Regions from separate parts of the Homo sapiens genome. Here regions 2 and 3 are each linked to region 1. The links are contacts of gene promoters, found by promoter capture Hi-C in blood cells and fetal thymus (Javierre and others, 2016). All regions are on one chromosome and are shown on one strand. The core of a region is centred on a gene start or on the middle of the fragment in contact, and the rest is flanking DNA. Distances in the headings are between cores, read along the strand shown.

Evidence for each region. The method cuts DNA at HindIII sites, captures the fragments that hold promoters and counts their contacts. A CHiCAGO score of 5 or more calls a contact.
Region 2: a fragment that was not itself captured here is called in contact with the fragment with the promoter of ACIN1 in region 1 in 1 of 17 cell types (M0 macrophages); the score reaches 7.7 in M0 macrophages.
Region 3: a contact is called between a fragment that was not itself captured here and the fragment with the promoter of ACIN1 in region 1, in 1 of 17 cell types (erythroblasts). The highest score is 5.3, in erythroblasts.

The regions. Positions count from the first base shown.
Region 1 is chr14:23,093,130-23,097,145 of GRCh38, reverse strand. ACIN1 (apoptotic chromatin condensation inducer 1) reads left to right here and starts at 2,010. Exons shown (of 19, transcript NM_001386863.1): 1 at 2,010-2,171; 2 at 3,602-3,667. The coding sequence starts at 2,034. It overlaps C14orf119 (chromosome 14 open reading frame 119), which reads right to left and starts at 1,641. Exons shown (of 2, transcript NM_017924.4): 1 at 1,527-1,641. RefSeq lists enhancers at 1,207-1,730, 1,610-1,819, 1,840-1,919, 1,731-2,254, 1,960-2,269. The HindIII fragment of the contact is 2,975 bases long and covers 1,776-4,016 here.
Region 2 is chr14:24,278,089-24,282,104 of GRCh38, reverse strand. It overlaps a transcript of NOP9 not described here. Among named protein-coding and RNA genes, the nearest start is that of RABGGTA, 8.5 kb to the right of the region's middle. RefSeq lists enhancers at 2,091-2,170, 2,511-2,660 and a silencer at 3,218-3,448. The HindIII fragment of the contact is 3,842 bases long and covers 257-4,016 here.
Region 3 is chr14:24,114,810-24,118,825 of GRCh38, reverse strand. DCAF11 (DDB1 and CUL4 associated factor 11) reads right to left here. Exons shown (of 15, transcript NM_025230.5): 1 at 3,533-4,016; 2 at 3,077-3,444; 3 at 1,782-1,909; 4 at 1,433-1,560; 5 at 1,094-1,158; 6 at 671-771; 7 at 292-438; 8 at 22-76. The coding sequence starts at 3,231. It overlaps NRL (neural retina leucine zipper), which reads left to right and starts at 3,877. Exons shown (of 3, transcript NM_001354768.3): 1 at 3,877-4,016. RefSeq lists an enhancer at 3,970-4,016. The HindIII fragment of the contact is 1,658 bases long and covers 1,132-2,789 here.

The DNA of each region.
Region 1 (4,016 bases), core at 761-3,260:
GCATATAAGCCTCTGAAATATGCCAACAACTCCATAACATCCGTTACCTCCTTACATTTCCTGTAAAGCACCAGGAAAAGTTAAAAAGCAGAGTAAGGACCTTGCTCAAAATAAGGTAACGCATGAAAGAACCAGAAGCCCGGGTGTTTGAGACGTTCTTAAAAAAGAGTCCAGTTGGTTTGTTGGCTTAGAGATCTAACAAGTGTTATACTATTTTATGACAATCCATGTCTTTAAACAATTGTCCTTAATATTTAGTATGGGCCAGACGCGGTGGTTCTTGCACTTCCAAAGTAATCTCAGCACTTTGAGAGGCCGAGGCAAGAGGATCGCTTGAGCCCAGGTGTTCGAGACCAGCCTGGGCAACATGGCAAAACCTCATCCCTACAAAAAATAAAAAAATTAGTTGAGCGTAGAGGTGCCTACCTGTAGTCCTAGCTACGTAGGAGACTGAGGTAGGAGCATCACCTGAGCCCGGGAGGTTGAGGCTGCAGTGAGCCCTGATCGCGCCACTGCACTCCAGCCTGCGTCAGAGTGGAGGGACCCAGAGTGGAGTGACAAAAAAAAAATTTTTTTTTTTTTTTAGTATGGTATCTATTGGTGCCTTGCAATTTTTTTTTTTTTTTTTTTTTTTTTTGAGACGGAGTCTTGCTCTGTCACCCAGGCTGTAGTGCAATGGCGTGATCTCAACCACTGCTTCCTGGGTTCAAGCGATTCTCCTGCCTCAGCCTCCCGAGTAGCTGGGACTATAGGCGTACGCCACCACGCCCGGCTAATTTGTTTGTATTTTTAGTAGAGACGGGGTTTCACCATATTGGCCAGACTGGTCTCCAACTCCTGACCTCAAGTGATCCGCCCGCCTCGGCCTCCCAAAGTGCTGGGATTATAGGCGTAAGCCACCGCGCCCGGCACCTTGCCACTGATTTTGCATCATGAATGCAACGGAAAGATCAGCCAATTTGACTTTAATAGTTTTCAGTCTCTTAAATCTCTAACGTATCTCTTAAATCTCTAAACTATTTGTCTGTGACCTATTTTACTGTTTGTGTTTCTTCTGCATCAAGTTGGAGGATTGGTAGTGACAAAGAAAGAAGCCCCTAAACAATTAATATTAGTTCAAGTACCAAAAAAGTTCAGGGCGCTTGCATTTTCCAGTTCTTGCCCTACAGGAAGCAGTTCCTCCAAGGGAACTTACTCTCTTCTGCGGAGCAAGGAAGAACTTTCCCAGAATCTTGCCACATGGCTTCCAAGGCAAACTCAAACTCAAGTTCAGCGTCATAGATCAGTTCATAGTCTGGGTCCGAAGACACGGCGATGCTTCTTGCGCACCCCCACGGAGCTTGTTATTCCGATTCCGCACCAGCCCCCCGCCCCTCCCCAAAAAAAGCCTAAGATGGGAGTGGCTATGATTCAGAGGACAGAGGGCAGAAGCTGTTTGCGTTAAGGAGTGGGGGGCTTGCCCTATTAAGGTAATCCGCAAACACCGAGTCTGACCCGGCCCATAGAGGTACTTCTACCCCGCTTACCTCCCCTTTTCTCTCGAAGGGCACCCGAAGATTGTCACGAGTCCTTAGACTCCAACTACTGCGGCAGCTTCCAAATTTCCTGAAAACCCTAAGCTGGGCCAGCCCGGCAGCCCACGCACTTCCGGCCTCGGACCCGCCCCAAACACCCAAGCGCCCCAGCGCCTCATCTCTAGGTCCGGAAATAAACGAACATCTCCGATTATGGTTATACCAGGGTCGAGGGTTTCCGAATATATTCGATTCAAAGCTTCGGCAAGACGAAGAAAACCGAGCCTGAAAGCAGGGCGAGAAAAGGGGCGCTGCAGGGCGGATGGAAAGAATTGATTGGTAACGATGTGGAGACGGAAACATCCGAGGACATCCGGAGGAACCCGGGGAGTTCTGAGTGGTAATCGAGGGGTAGAGTATGGCAGTGGGCGGGGTCATCTCGGTACGTTCGAAGGGCGTTGGCGGAAATTACCGAAGATGCCCGAAGCCGTCGGGACGGACCCGAGTACCTCACGCAAGATGGCGGAGCTGGAGGAGGTGACTCTGGACGGGAAGCCTCTTCAGGCGCTGCGGGTGACCGACCTGAAGGCCGCACTGGAGCAGCGAGGCCTAGCCAAGAGCGGGCAGAAGAGTGCCCTGGTCAAGCGGCTCAAAGGGGTGAGGAGTCGGCGTTGCTGGGGTGTCGGAGGAGAGCGGACCCGGTAGAGACGAGCCTCTGCCGCGGCGCAGGCGCAGTATCCGGGCTCGGCGCGAGCTCGCTCAGGCCGCCAGCGCGAGCCTCTGGATCCGCGCGCACGGTGGTTGATGAGGTTCGCGCTGGAATGGAGATCGCGCCGGTTCCCGCCTTAACGGCAGCAGCGCGAGCCCAAATGGGAGGGTGTGCACTACTCTCCAGGAGTGTCTTAAGCTCCTTCCTCCTTCCCCCACCCCCTCCTTGTTTGTATCTGTGGTTTCGGCGCATGCGCTGCAGAAGGAGTTAAATCCCACTACAACCTACGGCGTTGCTGGCCTGAGGGGGGCGAGTTGGGCTGGGTCGGAGTTAGGGGTATAGTTGCGCGAAGGGGTGGATGGGGTTGGTATCGGTATCTGCACGAATAGGACTGGGGTAGGGTAAAATGTCTGCTCGATTAGATGAGGAGGTGAGATGAAGAGAGACCTTTATTTGAAGGGACTTGATGAGAGAGAGGTCTCTAATTTAGTGGCATCTAGTGGCAATTTGGGTGGTTAAGAGTTTGGTGAATATTGGTGAGAGAGGCGAGGCAGGTTGATATATATTGGGGATTTTGAATCGGTTTGAGTAGATTAAGGTGGGATTGTCATGAGGTAGGTGTAGCTCGATTCAAGTGTATAGGTTTGGTTTAAAGAAGGGAAGATGAGGATGTCTTGGTTTTAATTAGAGTTCAACAGGATACGTGGCAGGTAGTGCAGATTAGGTCTGGGTTGGCTCCAGGGTTGAGTTGGCAGACCGTTGCTTATACAGAAGCTGATAGTTTTGTGTGTGTGTGTTTGTGTGTGTGTGTTTGTGTGGATAGACTAGGTTAGACCACAGTTTACAGGGTCTGTGGTCATTTTCTTCTGTAGCTTCCTCTTTGAAAATTTTATAAATTTGATAAATCTAGGTGCCACAGTACTGGAAATTATACAAATTGACCCTGGTACTGGGTAACCCTTTGACCAAGTAATTCCGTCAGGCAAAAACCAGGAGCCCCATGGCTGGTTTGAGTATTTTAAGTAATTTTACATGCATGATCAGATTTAGAAGGGGCACTTGGCGAAAGTGCAGAAGATAATAGGGATTTTAGTACTGGTTCTATTACTGATATTATGACATAGCCAGGTCACTGATTCTGTGTGCCTGCATTTTATATCTGTACATTTAGTAACAGTAACCATGGCTACCTTTATGGGTCTTCTGAAGATGAATGAGAACAGTGTTAGTAAAGGGTTTTCAGGTCCCTGGAAAAGGAATACAGTTTAATTGTGTGTATTTAAGTCATTGCGTTTAATTTAGAGGTTGTGGTAGAGGTGGGGGTTTGTTTTTCTTTTTTTTCCTCATCATTTCTGACTTTTACCCTTCTCTATACCAGGCTCTAATGCTAGAAAATTTACAGAAACACTCAACACCCCATGCTGCATTCCAGCCAAATTCCCAGGTGAGAAAGAAGGTGTATTCAATGGAGTGGGCCCTTTGGATATCCAGACACATGGAAGGACGTGGTGTTGTATATTTGATGCTTAAGTCCTCATGACTGTTTTCCTAAGTTCTCTTAGTCAGAAATGTTCTCAAACCAGGACAGTTGAATTCTAATCAACCCAGTTGTATACAAGGGCCTGGAGTAAAGAACAGAATCAGAGGCACTGTTAGTTTATAATAATTGAAATGGCATGTGTAGAAAGGTGTGGCTTCCATTAATTACGTGTAGTACAGAGATCTGAAGTCATTTATCTGCCATGAATTTAGGAAAGGTAGTTGATGTCTTTGAGTATAGATATGAAGTAGAT
Region 2 (4,016 bases), core at 928-3,427, 1.2 Mb before region 1:
GCAATTCTCCTGTCTCAGCCTCCCCAGTAGCATGGAATTACATCATGCCTGGCTAATTTTTGTATTTTTAGTAGAGACGGGGTTTCCCAGGCTGGTCTCAAGCTCCTGGCCTCAAGTGATCCGCCCGCCTTGGCCTCCCAAAATGCTGGGATTACAGGCGTGAGCCACTGTGCCGGCCTCTGGTTTGGTTTTGACTTTGGAGGCCTTCTACTTTGGGTAGAGGAAGGGTTGGGGACTGGGCAGAATGGTGAAAGCTTTCCCAAGCTCACCCAGCCTAAGTTCCTCTTGGCCACATTGAGCCTTACTCTTCCCTAAACTTGACCACACTCCCTTTCCTCTGCGCCTTTGCTCCAGCTGTTCTGATCTCTGGATTACTGCTCATTCTTTCACCCAGCCCCCAACCCCATTTTGCCTGCCAGAATTCATCCAGCCAGGCCCATCTCAACCTCCTAGAAGTTTCTCCTGGCGTCTTCTACCCTTGCTTTGCCCGCTTCCAGGGAACCTCTTACTATGAAATTCACTTGGCTCTTGACTAGTGTTAGAGCCATAGATGTCTTCATCCATTTCCTGGATAAGGATGACTCCTTCCCAAAGTTAGGGATTAGGTCTTGAACCCTTCATCCCCCATTCTCCTGCTGTCTCCTTCCCCATGCACAGAAACTTTGAAACCTTCAGCACAGAACTGCACAGTACCTGGGGCAAACCCAGAGTGTGGCTGAACTCACAGGCCCAGTGAGACCAATTGGTGAGAGCTCCACCCTTCCTCCCTGAGGGGAGGTATGCTGGGCCAGCCATGGCAGTGTCTGTATCCCAGGACTGACCCTCTAAGGACTCATTGATCCCTGCTATCCATCGGTCCTTGGCCTCGGCCCCACACACCACACCTCAGCCTCAAAACCCCCGCTCAGGGGCCTAAGAGAGAATTTCCCAACAGGGCTGCCAGCAGTGGGAGCCTTGGATGCCTCTGTAGGGCTACTCCAGGTCCTCCCTGCCCCTCTTCCCCTCAGTGTTCTTTGCCAGGCACAGAGCTCAAGCCTGAGTCATGATTGGGCCCACAGGGGACTCAGGAACACAGCATTGCTCCTGTCAGCAGTTCCAGGCATTCTCCTTTACACTGAATTCTGAGCTTCGGAACCACTCCCTGTCCACTCCCTCCCGGTGCTGCGAGGCCTGGCCCTACAGCCTGGAGTGCAGCCACCCCTGACCAAGCTCCCTGCCCTGGGCTCTAAGATCCCCAACTCCTCCTCCTCATCTCCCACCCCAGCCCAGTGGGTGGGTGCCTCCATGGCTCACCATTTATTCATTCATTCATTCTTTCCCAACTAGTCTCAATACCCTGTTTCATTTCCCTCAGGGGCACTTAGATTCCCTGAAATTGTCTTAGGTGTGTATTTGCTCCTACAGGGACTGTCTCCCCAACTATAATGTAAGCCCTATGACAGCAGGGACCTTGTCTGTCTTGGTCACCACTGTATATTGAGCTGTACTGGCGCTCAATAATTGTTGGTTGATAATTGACTGGCTAAATTATGTTAACGTTAGTTGAGCAACCACCATGGTGCAGGCACCTTGCTAGGTGAGAGGAAATGCAGTCAAATGAGTCCCCTTGGGTAGGTAGTTCACAGCAGGAGCAGAAGTGGGGCGCTGCACCCACAGGATGAGCTATAATGCAGGCACCACAGGACCTGGTGCTGAGAGGAACAGAAGAGGCACTTGACCGAGCCCCAAGCCAGGGCTTCTGCTCACCTACAGCCCCAGCTCCCACTCACTTCCTTTAGGAAGCCCACCCCCATTCTCAGACAGGGCAGCTCCCCATCAGGTGCTCACCCAGCACCATATGCCTCTCCATAAAGGCAGAGCAGTTGACAGAGTTGTCCTTCTACATTTGCTTATGTGATTATTTCCATCATCCAGAAAGTTCGATTAAACAGCCCAGGGCTAGCCTGTATGCTCAGTGAGGCAGGGACTTTGTCTGTGCTCTGCTCACTGTCGCAGCCCCCACCCTAGCGTGGATCAGGCACAGAGGGCCCTCAGTCAGTATTTGTTGGATGGATGAATGGGACAGGGAAAGGGCGAGGCCTGAGTGCTCCCCCAAAAGGAGCGGTTCCTCTTTCCTCCCCTAGAGGAGTATGTCCTTAGCCCCCTGTGTTCATCTACCAGCGACAGCATCCCATCCTTCCCCAGGACCCACAGTCTCACTTTGTTCCACAGCTTCTGCTTCTCACTTGACATAGAACGTCAGGGCTTCTGCCTCCTGGTACCACTCACATCATATATGCCCAAAACCGAATGTGATGGTGCCCCCTGCAGCTGGGCAGCAGCCTTGCCAGGCAGTGAGCTTCTTGGCTACATTCCCACCTCCACCAGTGCTCTGGGCAATTTTTAGCCAACATGTCATTATCATCACCAGTCACCATGCAGTGCCTGGCTCCTGTCACAGAGGCTTCAGTTCTGGCTGGCTCAAGAAGTTTTTCCAGCTTTTCAACACCATTTCTTGGTTGCTTTTCCCTCAACTCTTCCCCAAGAGACGCCAACCTGAGTCAGTACCCACCACACCCTGGGAGAGTTAGAATGCTCTTGTGGGGACTTTCCCTCTGGGGCCCTTCTGTCTTTTAGGGCAACCTTGGGGACCTGCCCTCCCTTCTCACTGGCTAACCTGTTTCGTCTTCTTCCCCAGCCAGGAAGTGTGCTACAGGCACGTGGCAACCCCCATGGGCCATCAAGCAATTTCCCCAGCCTGACTCAGAAGGAACTGGGGAGCAGGGAGAAGAGAAAGAATGCAAGCATTCAAACCAAGTGTCCAAGGAATGGTCAGTTGTGGGGAATGGGCAGTGGAGAGGATCTTCTTGGGCTCTGAGTTACTCTAGTCCCCTGCTCCATCCCAGGGATCAGCATCTTTCAGAACTTCAGAGTGGAGAGACTCTGGTCTCTGAATGTCCACTACTACGTTCTCACAAAGTGGTTGACCAACATATGCTTGAATGCCTCCCACCTCTCATTGAGGCCCATTCTACCTTTGGTAGAATAATTAGCTTTAATTATTAGAAAGTCCTTCCTCATAAAGGATCTACATCCACTCTCTGGTCTTTGGTCTTTGCTCTCAAGATATGCAGAATCAATTCGGTTTCTATTCCAGGAGTTGAAAGACCATTATCATCTGCCCCTTGAATCTTCTCTCCCAGTTCAGTATCTTCATGTCTTCCCTGTGGTCATGGGCTCTTCTCACCATCCTGATTTCTACCTCTGGACTCTACAGTTTGTCTCTGTCCCTCTCAAAATGGGCCACACACTCCTCACAGGGTTTGACTCTCACAGAGTCTGGGGCCTATGAGCCCCATTGTTCTGGGTACTAAAGCTCTCTTAGTGCATCCCAAAGTCATGTTAGTGCTTTTGGCAAGCAGATCACAGTCAATTCTTTCCAATCTCTTATCAGCCAGAGTCCTCCTGTCTTCATACACTATCGTTATTCCACCCCTCACGTATCTCACTCTTGTGCAGCTGATTATCTGAAGACCAAAGAACCAGAGTGTAATTCTGTCCCTATTCAATACCACATGACAAATCTGGCCCAACAATCTCACCAGACGCCATCATCCAGTATTCCTCCCAATTATGTGCAAGTGACCTTCGATTATGAGAGTGGCATCTGTGCTCATCCCACGTCACTGAAAAAGTGCCATCACTAGGGACCTCCCTCCAGGTTGACAAAGACACATTAATTCATATTATTTGGTGATGGATGTCCTATCCGTTACAACCATATCTACTATCCCACCAGCACCCCCACAGTTCACCATTTTGTTGCTCAACATATCCTAAGATAGAGCTGATGGGTGCAAAAGCACTAAGATAGTCATTTGAAAACCTGGTTTCCAAACCTGGCCCCACCTCCAGGTATGTGACTTCACTGGCCCCACCTCCGGGTATGTGACTTCACTGAGTATCTCTGGGCTGCTGGGGATCCATCATGCCCTGTCTCGCTATAACGCTGTGCTCTGCGATGGTCAGAGTTATAA
Region 3 (4,016 bases), core at 711-3,210, 1.0 Mb before region 1:
ACCAGAAAGGGAAGCCAGTACCTGAGATCCAGGGCAGTGTGTGTATCTCCCTCACCATAGATATTGCAGATATGAACTAAGAGAAGCAAGAAAAACAAGAATCTTTCAGGGATGGGGGAAGAAGAGTGGAAGTGAAGCTAGGGAAGAGATCAAACAGGGGACAAGGGTACTGGAGCACTTTGGGAGTGATTTTCCCAGGACAAAGTGAGGGATCCTGGCTCAGAGGGGACAGGCACATGGAAACCTCAGGTCCCAGGCTGGAGAGTCAGTGGAAGCCTGGTGCATACTCACTGTAATCAGACCAGCTAGAGTAGAGGAAGTGGTTCCCATCAGGGGTGAAGGCCACATCCAAGACGCTCCAGCCTACGTCGCGGGCCTTGATGCTCTTGAATTTACGGAAACGGCCATATCGGCAGTCATAGAGTCGGATTGTCTGGTCTGTGTAAGTAAAGATCAGGCAGAATTATGGGACAGTTTCCTTGTAACTTTTCTAGATTAGACATCTCCCACTCAGTGTACCTGTGGAGTCTTCCCTTTATCATGGGAAACATGGTCTGGCTAAGCATCCTTAAGCCAGGTCTGAGCTCCCCGTCTGTGGCTTTCTAGCCTCAGTCAGGGGGAATGTCCCATGTTCCAGGAAAAGATAGTTTATAGGACCAGGGTCTGGTACCTTGGCAAGCAGACATGAATATTTGACCATCTTTGCTGTAGATGCCACAGAAAGCCTTCTGAGAGTAGCTATCAGTGAAGCCCAGATCATTGGGCAAGAAGCTAGGGAAGGAGAGAGAAAGTGAGGGTGAGGGGTGCTCAGGATAAGGAGTGTCCCAATCAGCAGAATCCTAACAGAGCTGGAATATCAGAACAGTCATTCTTCCCTTTTGGCTGTGAGTGCAATCCCGTCTTTCAACCATTCCACCATCCTCTAAATTTCTACAATTTTCTACACTTTTCTACTTTGTTTACTCTCAAAGTTTCAACCCCATTTAACCTAACCTTTAATATCTCTGAGGCTCCTTTAACACCTACCCCTTCAAAGTTTAGGAGATAAGACCTATCTGGCCCTTAGAGTCTCTTCACCAAGCCCCATACTCACTGAGATATCACTCGAGACTGTTCTCCAAGGGAGAAGCTTCCCCGATGGCAGAGGCCCCGTTCTCTCTAAATGGAAGGGATTGGGGAATATTGCTAGCAGAAATAGAGGGCCACTTCAGCCATATCAAGCCCCCTCCTCCAAAGATATTGCTCTTGTTATAGAAATGGACACACACATCATAGTCTGTCCCACAGAACTCCGATGGAGGCTGGTTAACTCTCCAGCCCCAGCGCTTGAGGCTTCTACTTTGGAAAGTTGACTTCCTTTTTCTCTGGGGCTGGCAGAGCTTCTGGCTGCTTTGGCAGGCCTGCTGCCAGGCTGGGAGGTGGAGAGGCCTACCTGGTGCAACATTCGAGGAAAGCTGTGCTTCTGGGCGGCCCGCCTAAGCCCCAGCTGCCCTGTGGCCAGTTCCACTTGTGTCTTGATCTCATTGAATTCCAGCTCCCGGGTGTCAGGGGTAGCATCCACTGTGAGTACCAAGGAGAAGTTTCATCCTAGGTCTGCCAGCCTCAGAGGACAGTTAGCAGAACTGTACCCAAGCCCACCCCTGTGGCTGAATATACTGGGGCTGTAAGGACTCCTTATTCCTTAAATTATCGTACCTTCTTTCAATGTAACCTATCATTCAAAATATCACTAAAAGGTTTTCTAGTAAAAGTCTTCCAACATTAGGGGCTTTTCCTCTTACCAGGTGGGTTGTATCGATCCCCAAGACGACCATCCCAAGCTCTGTCATTCTCTTCCTCTGAGTCCAAGAGGGCCTGAATGAATTGTAAATTTGCTGCACCTCCTCCCTGCACCAACCTCACTTGGCCTCTGTGGAGAGACCCCCATTATAAAGGAGGGGACTTCTTCCCCCAAACCAACCAAATTCAGAGTCAATGGCTATCTAGCTCTTAGACCACTTGGTACTCATTTTGAGGTTTGAGGCTGACTAGACCTTGGCTGTTATTTTTGGTCTCCTATAAAACACAGTAGGAAAGAGAGTTTTACTCTTACAGCAAGAGCAAGACCAACATGCTGTGGACGTGACCTACTAAGTTGACCTCCCAGCGAGCTAAACATTCTAACATCATTTCCTTAGAACAAGAGCAAGACCAATACGCTGTGGACATGACCTACTAAGTTGACCTCCCAACAAGCTAAACATCCTCACAGCATTTCCTTCTGAGCCTCTGCCTGAGAAGTCCACCACAGAAGACAATATTCTAAGCTGGGTGCGGTGGTGTGTGCAACTGTAGTCTTAGCTACCTGGGAGGCAAGGATTGCTTGAGCCCAGGAGTTGCAGGCTGTGGTGTGCACTTGATCACACCTGTGAATAGCCCGTTCTCCAGACTGGGGAACACAGTGAGCCCTGTCTATGTCTACTAAAAACAACACAAAACACAAACAAAAAAGAATACAATATTCTGAAGGGACCCCCAAACCCATCTTCTCCTCAAAGAGCCATAAGCAAAGAAAGAAAGCCAGCTGCACCCTTTTCCAGTCAATTCCAGGTGGTCTCTCCCTTCAAGGCATTCTTTCCTCAAGAACAGGTTAGAGTCAGGGCAAATTAAACTTGTTTTTCAAGTAAATCGAAGTGGCCTCATATCATGTGTCAACTGCCTTACTAAAAAGTTCAACACTCCCTTCCCATCTCTTCACCCCTTACATCACTCCTTTCCCACTAGGACCCCCCCCTTTTTTTTTTCAAGCTTACTTGGAAAATAGACTATATTTGTGTAGTCACAGAGACAGGCTCCCTTGAATAGCCCCTCAAACACATGAGCAGGTCCTCTTGGTGACCCTCCCTAGGTAAGAACCACTCTTACTGGGTATGGAGCTGAGTGCCATGGGTGCCCAGCAGGGAAAGGCTGTTCAGCTCAAACAGAACAGCTGTCCTGAGCGAATCCCATTTCCTAACCTCTGTAATTTTCCTGCCTGGAGTTGGGATCAAGGCACTGTGGTAGCACCTGCTGGGGGTCACACCAGAGGGTAAGTTACCTGCGGAGGAGATAGGCCAGTACCTGGGCCAGATCCACATCTTCATCCTCTTCTTCCTCTTCCTCACTCCGACGCAGGCCAGCCCCTCTTCGGGGCAAGCCCTCGGAGGGGTCTCCGGACCCGGATCCTGCACTGCTGCTGTTCCGCGATCCCATCTTCTGGTCACAGCATTCTTAGGTCCTGTGCGGGGGCTCCTCCTGTCACCTCCTTGGGTTTGGTGAAAGCAAAGCGTGCTCTAGAAATACCAGGGTCTCCTGAGACGGGGTAGTAGCTATCTCTAGGAGGGTGACCCTTCCTCGGGGCTGAGATCCCTTTTCTTTAGCCTATGCCAACTACCAAGGCGTCGGGAACACAAACCTTCTCCAATCCTGTGAAGCAAAGAAAGCAAGAGTGAACCGTAGTGCGCTACCCTAGCTCACCAACTGAAGAAAGATTTGTTTTCTACACCAAACTCACCTATCGAAGTCCCCGGACTGGGGAGCGGGAGGGGTGTTGGGCGGTGTTGGATTTCCAGGTAACCTCTCTGACCGACCAATCGAAATCCCTCTCGGAAGAAAGCGCTTCACTAGCTTATCTCATCTAACCAATTAGAAGCCTTAGGACTCAAAGACCCTCGACGCCCCCACCTTATCGACCAATCAGAGCGCCCCCTTACAAAGGCCGGCAGCAGTGACAGCCAATGAAAATAGAATTTGGCCTAACACCCCTCCTTCCTCGCCTCACGCCCACGTGGTGCGCCGGGGGTGTGTACGCCATGAGGGGGAGGAAGCCGAGAAGCACCTCCCACTGAAGCCGGCGGTAACCGCCCCACGCGAGACCACCCACCAGCCAGGAGCGGTCGCAGGACCCGCAGCGGCGCGAGGCCTTGTTTACACCGACTGCCGCCACTGCGTTGGCCAACCGCTCCTCCGTCACGCGCTTCGCTCGTCACGCATCTCGC